Regions from separate parts of the Homo sapiens genome. Here regions 1 and 3 are each linked to region 2. Evidence: promoter capture Hi-C in 16 types of primary human blood cells and fetal thymus (Javierre and others, 2016). All regions are on one chromosome and are shown on one strand. Each heading gives the region's core, a stretch centred on a gene start or on the middle of the fragment in contact. The rest is flanking DNA. Distances are from core to core; before and after follow the strand shown.

What was found. The method cuts DNA at HindIII sites, captures the fragments that hold promoters and counts their contacts. A CHiCAGO score of 5 or more calls a contact.
Region 1: a contact is called between the fragment with the promoter of SYNGR4 here and the fragment with the promoter of FTL in region 2, in 2 of 17 cell types (fetal thymus and naive B cells). The highest score is 7.3, in fetal thymus.
Region 3: a contact is called between a fragment that was not itself captured here and the fragment with the promoter of FTL in region 2, in 1 of 17 cell types (fetal thymus). The highest score is 5.3, in fetal thymus.

The regions. Positions count from the first base shown.
Region 1 is chr19:48,363,047-48,365,746 of GRCh38, forward strand. It overlaps SYNGR4 (synaptogyrin 4), which reads left to right and starts at 1,321. Exons shown (of 5, transcript NM_012451.4): 1 at 1,321-1,491; 2 at 2,690-2,700. TMEM143 (transmembrane protein 143) reads right to left here and starts at 894. Exons shown (of 8, transcript NM_018273.4): 1 at 852-894; 2 at 245-485. The coding sequence starts at 874. RefSeq lists enhancers at 446-495, 976-1,095, 1,466-1,615. The HindIII fragment of the contact is 5,293 bases long and covers 954-2,700 here.
Region 2 is chr19:48,963,918-48,966,617 of GRCh38, forward strand. It overlaps FTL (ferritin light chain), which reads left to right and starts at 1,392. Exons shown (of 4, transcript NM_000146.4): 1 at 1,392-1,692; 2 at 1,853-1,999; 3 at 2,364-2,489; 4 at 2,666-2,700. The coding sequence starts at 1,591. RefSeq lists a cis regulatory region at 1-291, enhancers at 1-82, 1,632-1,681 and a silencer at 1,222-1,381. The HindIII fragment of the contact is 1,823 bases long and covers 886-2,700 here.
Region 3 is chr19:48,329,017-48,331,716 of GRCh38, forward strand. EMP3 (epithelial membrane protein 3 (MAM blood group)) reads left to right here. Exons shown (of 5, transcript NM_001425.3): 4 at 336-476; 5 at 1,285-1,537. The coding sequence ends at 1,454. Among named protein-coding and RNA genes, the nearest start is that of EMP3, 4.8 kb to the left of the region's middle. RefSeq lists an enhancer at 386-535. The HindIII fragment of the contact is 888 bases long and covers 996-1,883 here.

The DNA.
Region 1 (2,700 bases), core at 71-2,570, 600 kb before region 2:
AGAGAGTGCCTGTTCAAGCCCTCAGAACAAGCCAGAGTTGGGAATGGATGCTGCGTCTGCATCTCGGAGACCTGGCTCCTGCATTCCAGCTCATCTCCCGCCCACTAGGGAAACACGAAGGGACCCGGGAACTACAACTCCCAGGAGGCGCCAGGGCAGCTCTCTGCAGCAACTAGGGCCCTGCCGCCGCGAAGCCTGCTGGGAGCCGTAGTCCCCAGGCTCTTGGGCCTGGGACAGGCGGTACCTGTATTAGGAGGCGGAGCAGCTGCTCCTTGGAGAAGGGAATGAAGCGCTCGCGGTACTGCTGGGCCCAGTCGCGGGGCTCCCTGGGGTTCCACATCTTGCGATACTCCCCCATTTTGGCTGCCAGCGATGAGAGGGCCCGGGGGGGCCCGAGGAGCGCGGGCAACAGTGGCCATACTCGGACCCTGGACCCCCAGACCCCCCGGGTCACATGCAGCATGGCTAGACCCTTTCCCCGGAGCCTAAACAGAGGAAAATGGGCAGGGGTCAAAGGCCATCTAGAGGAAAAGCGCCCTCTCCACCTCCACGTCCCACCCTCCAGAAGCCGTCTCTACCCCAGGCAGGGCGCAGAGCCCATCCGCTCGCCTCAAAGCCCCTGTTGCCTGTCCCCTTCCCACACTGCTCAGTTGGCCTGGGTCCCAGACAGGGGTCAGAGGTCTTAGGTTCTGGGGCGTTTTTCAGGCCCAGAGACCCTGTAGTGGTACAACGTTTCTTTGGGGTCTAGACAGCGAGGTAGATCTTAGGAGAGCAGGAAATGCTCGTAAAGGTTACCTAGGGGGTGCAGGGCCGCCCTCCCTGGCCATGCAATCCCCCGATTTCTCCCTCACCTTAGCCAAAGCTCGACTGTCATTGAGCCTCCTGCGCATGTGCAGGAGGGCGTCCTGGGCTCCCGAGGTTCGGCTTCACCCAGCAGTAAAACGCATGCGCAAAGCTTCGGTCAATGCGGGCTGTCCATTTCTCACCGCCGACTCCCTACATCAACTACGCATGCGTTGCCTGCCTTTCTCCACCGCCGGCCTCGTTTGGGCGCGACGCATGCGCCGCAGGAGTGTCTCCTTGTCAGCTTGCTACAAAGGGAAGGGGCGGTGTGGACGCGAGACTCCCTAGAGGGATGGGGCGGGGTAGGGCTCCCGCGCGCAGTCCGCCAACGGCGCGCAGTCCAACGTTCGCCGAGGCCACGCCCCGGCTCGTGTCAGCTCCTGAGTAGGCGGAAAGAGGGAGGGGGCGGGACTTGGGCGCAGCCAATCAGCTGTGGAGGAGCGAAAAGGCGGGAAAAAGCGGAACCAAAAGAAGGCTGAGGTGGCGCTAGGGACCAGGAGGGGTGGGGGTGGCGAAAGGAAGGGCGGGCCCTCAGGTGACGCAGATTGGCCCTCCAGAGAAGGGGCGGCCCCTTCTCAGGTGCCGTCACCCCCAAACCTCAGCACTGCCATTCCAGGTCCTTAAAGGGGAGACCGCGATTCTAAGAAGGTAGCCCAGTGCCGGGGCGTGGCCTCATTCTGAGGTTCCCCACAAATCCGAGGTCCCGACTCCCAGCTTGAGGAGGTGCACTTCCGTGAAAATGGAGCTGAATTCGAAAGGGAGGCCCTTATTCTGGGAAATGGCCCCAAGTGACAAGGACAGCCTGAAATATGCCCTGAGATACCTGGGTTCTCCACGAAGGGTGCTGTCACCCCCAAACCTGAAAGGGATTATTCGGTTTCAGACCTCCCAGGGGCTCTGATCTCAATGGCCGCACCCCCTAGTCCCCAGAAAGTCCCACCTGTGTCCTCTCACAGAAGGACCCAGTCCCTCTGCAGGCCCTTCAGCTCCTGGGTCACAAGACGTGGTCCCCAAATATCCCAGCCCTCCCCTGCACTCCACCTCTGGGATCCCTGACAGCCCTCTCGCCCAACAACCCCCTCAGCCCACATTCCTGACTTCTGGAACCTGAAGCAGCCCCTTCACTTATGTCCCCCACTCCTGGGACCCCCAGAATCACCCTCACCCCAGGCCCTCACCTCTCTGGAATCCTCCATAGACCCCCTTAACCCACACCTCAACCCAGGGGACCCTTAGCGACTCTCTCATCCTGCACCTCCACCTCTGTGACCCCTGGCAGCCCTCCCCACACGACACCTTGCCTGGGACCCCTAGTATCCCCATCCTATGCCCCCCTCTCCTGGGACCCCCAGAAAGCTCCCTCACCACACACAACCCCATTCCTGGGAACCCCCAGCACCCGCATCCTATGTCCCCCACTTCAGGGACCCCTAGCAGCCCTCTCCACACAACACCTTTCCTGGGACCCCCCAGAACCCCCATCCTATGCCTCCCACTTCTGGGACCCCTAGTAGCCCCCTCACCACACAACCCCATTCCTGGGACCCCCAGCACCCCCATCCTATGCCCCCCACTCCTGGGGCCCACAGAAGCCCCCTCAGCACACACAACCTCATTCCCTGGGACCCACCTGCACCCCCATCCTACGTCCCCGACTTCTGGGGCCCCTGACAGCCCATTCACCCCACACCCTGACTCCTAAGAGGCTCAGCAGTCCCCTCACCCCACACAACTCCATTCCGGGGACCCCCCCCATCCCCACCCCATGTCCCCCAATCCTGGGGCCCCCAACAGCCCTTCCACCCCGTGCCCCTGACTGGCATCCCCCATCTGTGTCATCCCACAGCAGCCAAGCCC
Region 2 (2,700 bases), core at 142-2,641:
CCCCTTCCCGCGCTGAGCTCAGCATGACTCAGCAGTCGCTGCCTGCAACAAGGACCCCAGATACCGGCCTGGCGGGGCATCTGCAGATCCCCTCGGTCAGGGGCTGCCCCGCCTGGGCTGTTCGGAGCAGCTCCTCTGTAGGGCAGGGCCTGACCTCACCCCACACCCCAGTGGCTTCAGCTCCCTGCCCAGCGCACGGGCTGCCTCCATCAGGGCACTTAAGTAGAGTCAAGGTTTGCGCCGACTCCGTCTCCCAGAAATCAACGTGGACCAGGCCCACTTAAAAAATATGCATTAGTCGAAGACAGACGTCTCGTCCATAGGTCCCCAGACTGTTTGTCCACAACGCAGGGCTTCTCTTTGTGGGCCTGAAGGAGCACACGTCAGGCAAGACACGAGGGCAACTTCAGAGACACTGTTCAGGGCCACGGAGAATTCTCGAAGTCTGTGAGTTGTCTCCAAAACAGCCTCCAGGAAATGCAATCCCAGAGACACCGCAAAGCTCAAAACAGACTTTTCATTCCTCCCCATTTCCACTCCCAGAAAAAGCCTGGGCCCCTGAAAGAGCTCCAAGGTATCCCCAAAGTCCCAGCCCATCTTTGGAGGGTTCCAGAGGGCTGTCCAGGGTTCCAGAAGTCACCCTACCTCATACAATGCTCCTCCTGGGCTTCCCGCACTGGGTGAAACCCACGGCTCCAGAATAACTGCCCTTTCCAACTTGCAGAGCACCTCAAGAACCTAAAGATTTCCCCGGGGAGGGCTCCAAAATATAGAGAGTTTGCATCGTGAACCCCCACCCCTGTAAATCCCAGGACTCCAGTCCCCGCAACACTCCATCTTCCAGAGATCTCCAGGGGTCCAGAAATAACACCTCACAGCCTTCCAAGCTTCCCAAGGATCCGGAGACTCCTTATCTCGCAGCGCAAACCTCAGGCAACTACAGGTCCTCCCTGCACCTTTGAGGTGCCCCTCCCCCCACTCAAGGTTCCAGAAAAATCCATGCCCTCGGAAACCCCAGAATCTTACTTTCCCGAGGCACCCCAGGACCCCAGGGTCATCAGTTCACAGGGCTGTTAGTGCTCCCATAAAACTCTAGCCTCCCAGAGGGACCCCAGCCCCCACCCTCCCGCCCACGAACCCCTGCATTTCCAGAATCAGCCCCAGGGCCCCAACCCCCCCAAGCCCCCATTTCACAACACGCTGGCGCTACAGGCGCGTGACTTCCCCTTGCTTTGGGGCGGGGGGCTGAGACTCCTATGTGCTCCGGATTGGTCAGGCACGGCCTTCGGCCCCGCCTCCTGCCACCGCAGATTGGCCGCTAGCCCTCCCCGAGCGCCCTGCCTCCGAGGGCCGGCGCACCATAAAAGAAGCCGCCCTAGCCACGTCCCCTCGCAGTTCGGCGGTCCCGCGGGTCTGTCTCTTGCTTCAACAGTGTTTGGACGGAACAGATCCGGGGACTCTCTTCCAGCCTCCGACCGCCCTCCGATTTCCTCTCCGCTTGCAACCTCCGGGACCATCTTCTCGGCCATCTCCTGCTTCTGGGACCTGCCAGCACCGTTTTTGTGGTTAGCTCCTTCTTGCCAACCAACCATGAGCTCCCAGATTCGTCAGAATTATTCCACCGACGTGGAGGCAGCCGTCAACAGCCTGGTCAATTTGTACCTGCAGGCCTCCTACACCTACCTCTCTCTGGTGAGTCCCCAGGACGCCCCTGGCCCTAATTTCCTCCAGCTGCGCACCTCCGGCCCTCACTGCACGCGCCAGCCTTCTTTGTGCGGTCGGGTAAACAGAGGGCGGAGTCCCCTTGGCCTCGCCTCCCGCTAACCATTGTTGCCTCCATCTCTTCCCGTAGGGCTTCTATTTCGACCGCGATGATGTGGCTCTGGAAGGCGTGAGCCACTTCTTCCGCGAATTGGCCGAGGAGAAGCGCGAGGGCTACGAGCGTCTCCTGAAGATGCAAAACCAGCGTGGCGGCCGCGCTCTCTTCCAGGACATCAAGGTAACTAGTGTGTGGGTAATGGACTACATCTCCCAGCAGGCCGTGCGCGCGAGGAGCCTTGATTTGAGGGCGTAGGTGTCGCGTGGGCTTCTGGGAGATTGAGTTCGGTCTTGTGAGCCCTCTTAACCGCTGGAAATAGAGGCGCACCTCGTGCAGTGCCCACAACACGCGGCAGTCCACACCGCTGCGTGGTCTTAGGGACGTATAGCTGTAAGAGCTAGGACAGGGTGCGGAGAGTGATAAATACAAGCTGTCACATGTCTTTGTGGCCTGGGCCTCTGACCCCCAACGACTCTTGGGAAATGTAGGTTTAGTTCTATGTGCCGAGTGTGTGTATTCTGAGCCATTTCTCCCTTCTATATAGAAGCCAGCTGAAGATGAGTGGGGTAAAACCCCAGACGCCATGAAAGCTGCCATGGCCCTGGAGAAAAAGCTGAACCAGGCCCTTTTGGATCTTCATGCCCTGGGTTCTGCCCGCACGGACCCCCATGTACGTACCCGCTGCATCCATGGCTACCCAACCATACCCCTCAAGCCTCTGCTCCCTTTGGGCAAATTTCCTTCAGAGCCTCATTTCACACCTGTCACATTTTAATCTGCAACTGGCTGCTCTCTCCCCCTCTTTTCCAGGGATTGGGTTTCTAATTTCTCCCTCTTCTCTCTCAGCTCTGTGACTTCCTGGAGACTCACTTCCTAGATGA
Region 3 (2,700 bases), core at 190-2,689, 630 kb before region 2:
GAGGCAGGGGTGAGAGAATTTCTTGAGCCCTGAAGGACGAGGCTGCAGTGAGCCATGATTATACCACTGCACTCCAGCTTGGGCAACAGAGCAAGACCTGGTTTCAGAAAAAAAAGAAAAAGGAAATTGGCAAAGCAACTACTAGAACTGAGAAGGGAATATAGCAAGGTAACAGGGCTCAAGGTCAAAATAAGTGATACATCTAAGTATCTAGGCTTGTATGGGCCTAAACGGGAGCAGGGATGGGGCAGAGAAGGGTCACATGGTGAGCAAGCAGGTGAAGCTGGAACTCTGGACCCACGGTGATGTCCCCCTCTGTGTCCTCCTTACTGCAGGCTGGCTGAAGGCGGTGCAGGTCCTCATGGTGCTCTCCCTCATTCTCTGCTGTCTCTCCTTCATCCTGTTCATGTTCCAGCTCTACACCATGCGACGAGGAGGTCTCTTCTATGCCACCGGCCTCTGCCAGCTTTGCACCAGTGAGCACTGCCCCTCCCCAACCCTAATCCCCCAAGAATTGAGCAGAAGGGAGTGGGGTGTGTCAAGATGCTGGGGGCCCTGAGAATGGGCCTCTCGTAGAAAAAAACAACTTTCAACACCCCACGAGCCACAAGAGGTGCCTCCGTGGGCTACATCTCTGCCCCCAGGGATTGCTGGGACTTGTAGTTTTCAGTGGCTAATGATAGTTATGGCTTGTGCGTATGAGTCATCAGGGAACTCAGAGTTTCAGGGAGCCGGGGCTGGGGAAGGAGGTATAGGTAAATAGTTTTGGTCCCAGGGATCGGCCGTGACGTGGGGGGATAAACTAATTAGTACCTCAGTAGAGAGCTCTAAATCATAATAATAATGGTATTTATATCAGCCAACCGCTGTTTCTTGCGTGCCTATTGTGCATCAGATACTTCAAGAAGTTTTGCGTACTTTTTAATTTTTTGACTTAAGGTGCAAAGGGCTAACTTAATCACAGTCAGTTTGGGGAACATTATAGGTTCTTGCAAAGCTTCTCTCTTGGTTTATGAATTTACTACTGCATGTTTGGCTTATAGAAACACACTCAAAAATATTCCTTGGATGGATAGAGAGATATTATTGGACCTAGAGAGATTAAATCAGTTACCTAAGGCCGCGCTACAGTTGCACGGCGCTGGGCGGGGGGGAAAGAACCACAACTCCCAGCAGGCAGCGGCGCTGCCCACGGGCCCTCCGGCGCTTCTTTGCCCCCATGGGATATTGGGAAATGTAGTCTTGAGGGGGCACTGCATGACGTGTGGTTTTCATCTTCCGCAGGCGTGGCGGTGTTTACTGGCGCCTTGATCTATGCCATTCACGCCGAGGAGATCCTGGAGAAGCACCCGCGAGGGGGCAGCTTCGGATACTGCTTCGCCCTGGCCTGGGTGGCCTTCCCCCTCGCCCTGGTCAGCGGCATCATCTACATCCACCTACGGAAGCGGGAGTGAGCGCCCCGCCTCGCTCGGCTGCCCCCGCCCCTTCCCGGCCCCCCTCGCCGCGCGTCCTCCAAAAAATAAAACCTTAACCGCGGGCTCTGCCTTGATCTTCCTTCCTTCCGCCTCCAGGGACCCAGGCTGCGCACGCTTGACCTCTCCTGAACCTAACATGGTCCCCACCGCCAGCTGCTCAGCCCTCAGAATGCCCATCTCCCAGCCCCCAACCCCTTCCTCCCGAGGACACAGGAGCCGGGACCCCAGGCACCTTTTCCCTCCCACAGACCCAAGAGCCTGGGCCTTCCCCGCTCAAGGCCCAAGAGACCTCTGTGAGGCACCTGAATCTAGACCTTCAGACACTTCTGGGAAGAACCTGGATTCTGGGTCCCAGCAGACCCTGTTAGGATAGGAAGCCTGCAGTGACCAGTCCTGTCTCCTTGCTCAAGCTTCTGTCACTCTGTTGCTCTCTCTCTCTGAACCCCGGGCATAGTGTGTGTTTCTAGATTGTCGGACTCTTTTTTTCTTTCTGTCCAGGTTGGAGTGCAGTGGTACGATCTCAGCTCACTGCAACCTCCGCCTCCCGGGTTGAAGCGATTCTCCTGCCTCAGCCTCCCGAGTAGCTGGGACTACAGGCACGAGCCACCACACCCGGCTAGTTCTGGACTCTTTTTTCTTTCTACTAACTTTCCATTTGGGAAGACAGCTTTCTTTTTCCCTCTAGGAAACCAGTCTCCCTCTCTCTCTTTTTTTTTTTTTTTTTTTTTTTTGAGACGGAGTCTCGCTCTGTCACCTAGGCTGTAGTGCAGTGGTGCGATCTTCACTCACTGCAACCTCCGCCTCCCGGGTTCAAGCAATTCTCCTGCCTCAGCCTCCTGAGCAGCTGGGATTACAGGCGCCCACCACCACGTCCGGCTAATTTTTGTATCTTTAGTAGACACGGGGTTTCACCATGTTGGCCAGGCTGGTCTTGAACTCCTGACCTCAGGTGATCCACCCACCTCAGCCTCCCAAAGTGCTGGGATTACAGGCGGGAGCCACCGCGCCCAGCCCAGTCTCCCTCTCTAGGGACTGAACATTTGGGGTCCTAGAGAGGGAGACTTCCCCTGTCTCCCCAAAGGCTGCCTCTAGCCCATATGACACGTTAGCAAAAATTAGGAGGCACCCCTTCTTCTGGCTGACCCAGCCCCACACCAGGATACATGTAGGGGTATGGGCTGGGTCTTACAGCCACCCACCCGTGGCTGTGTTCCTTTGTGCAGTT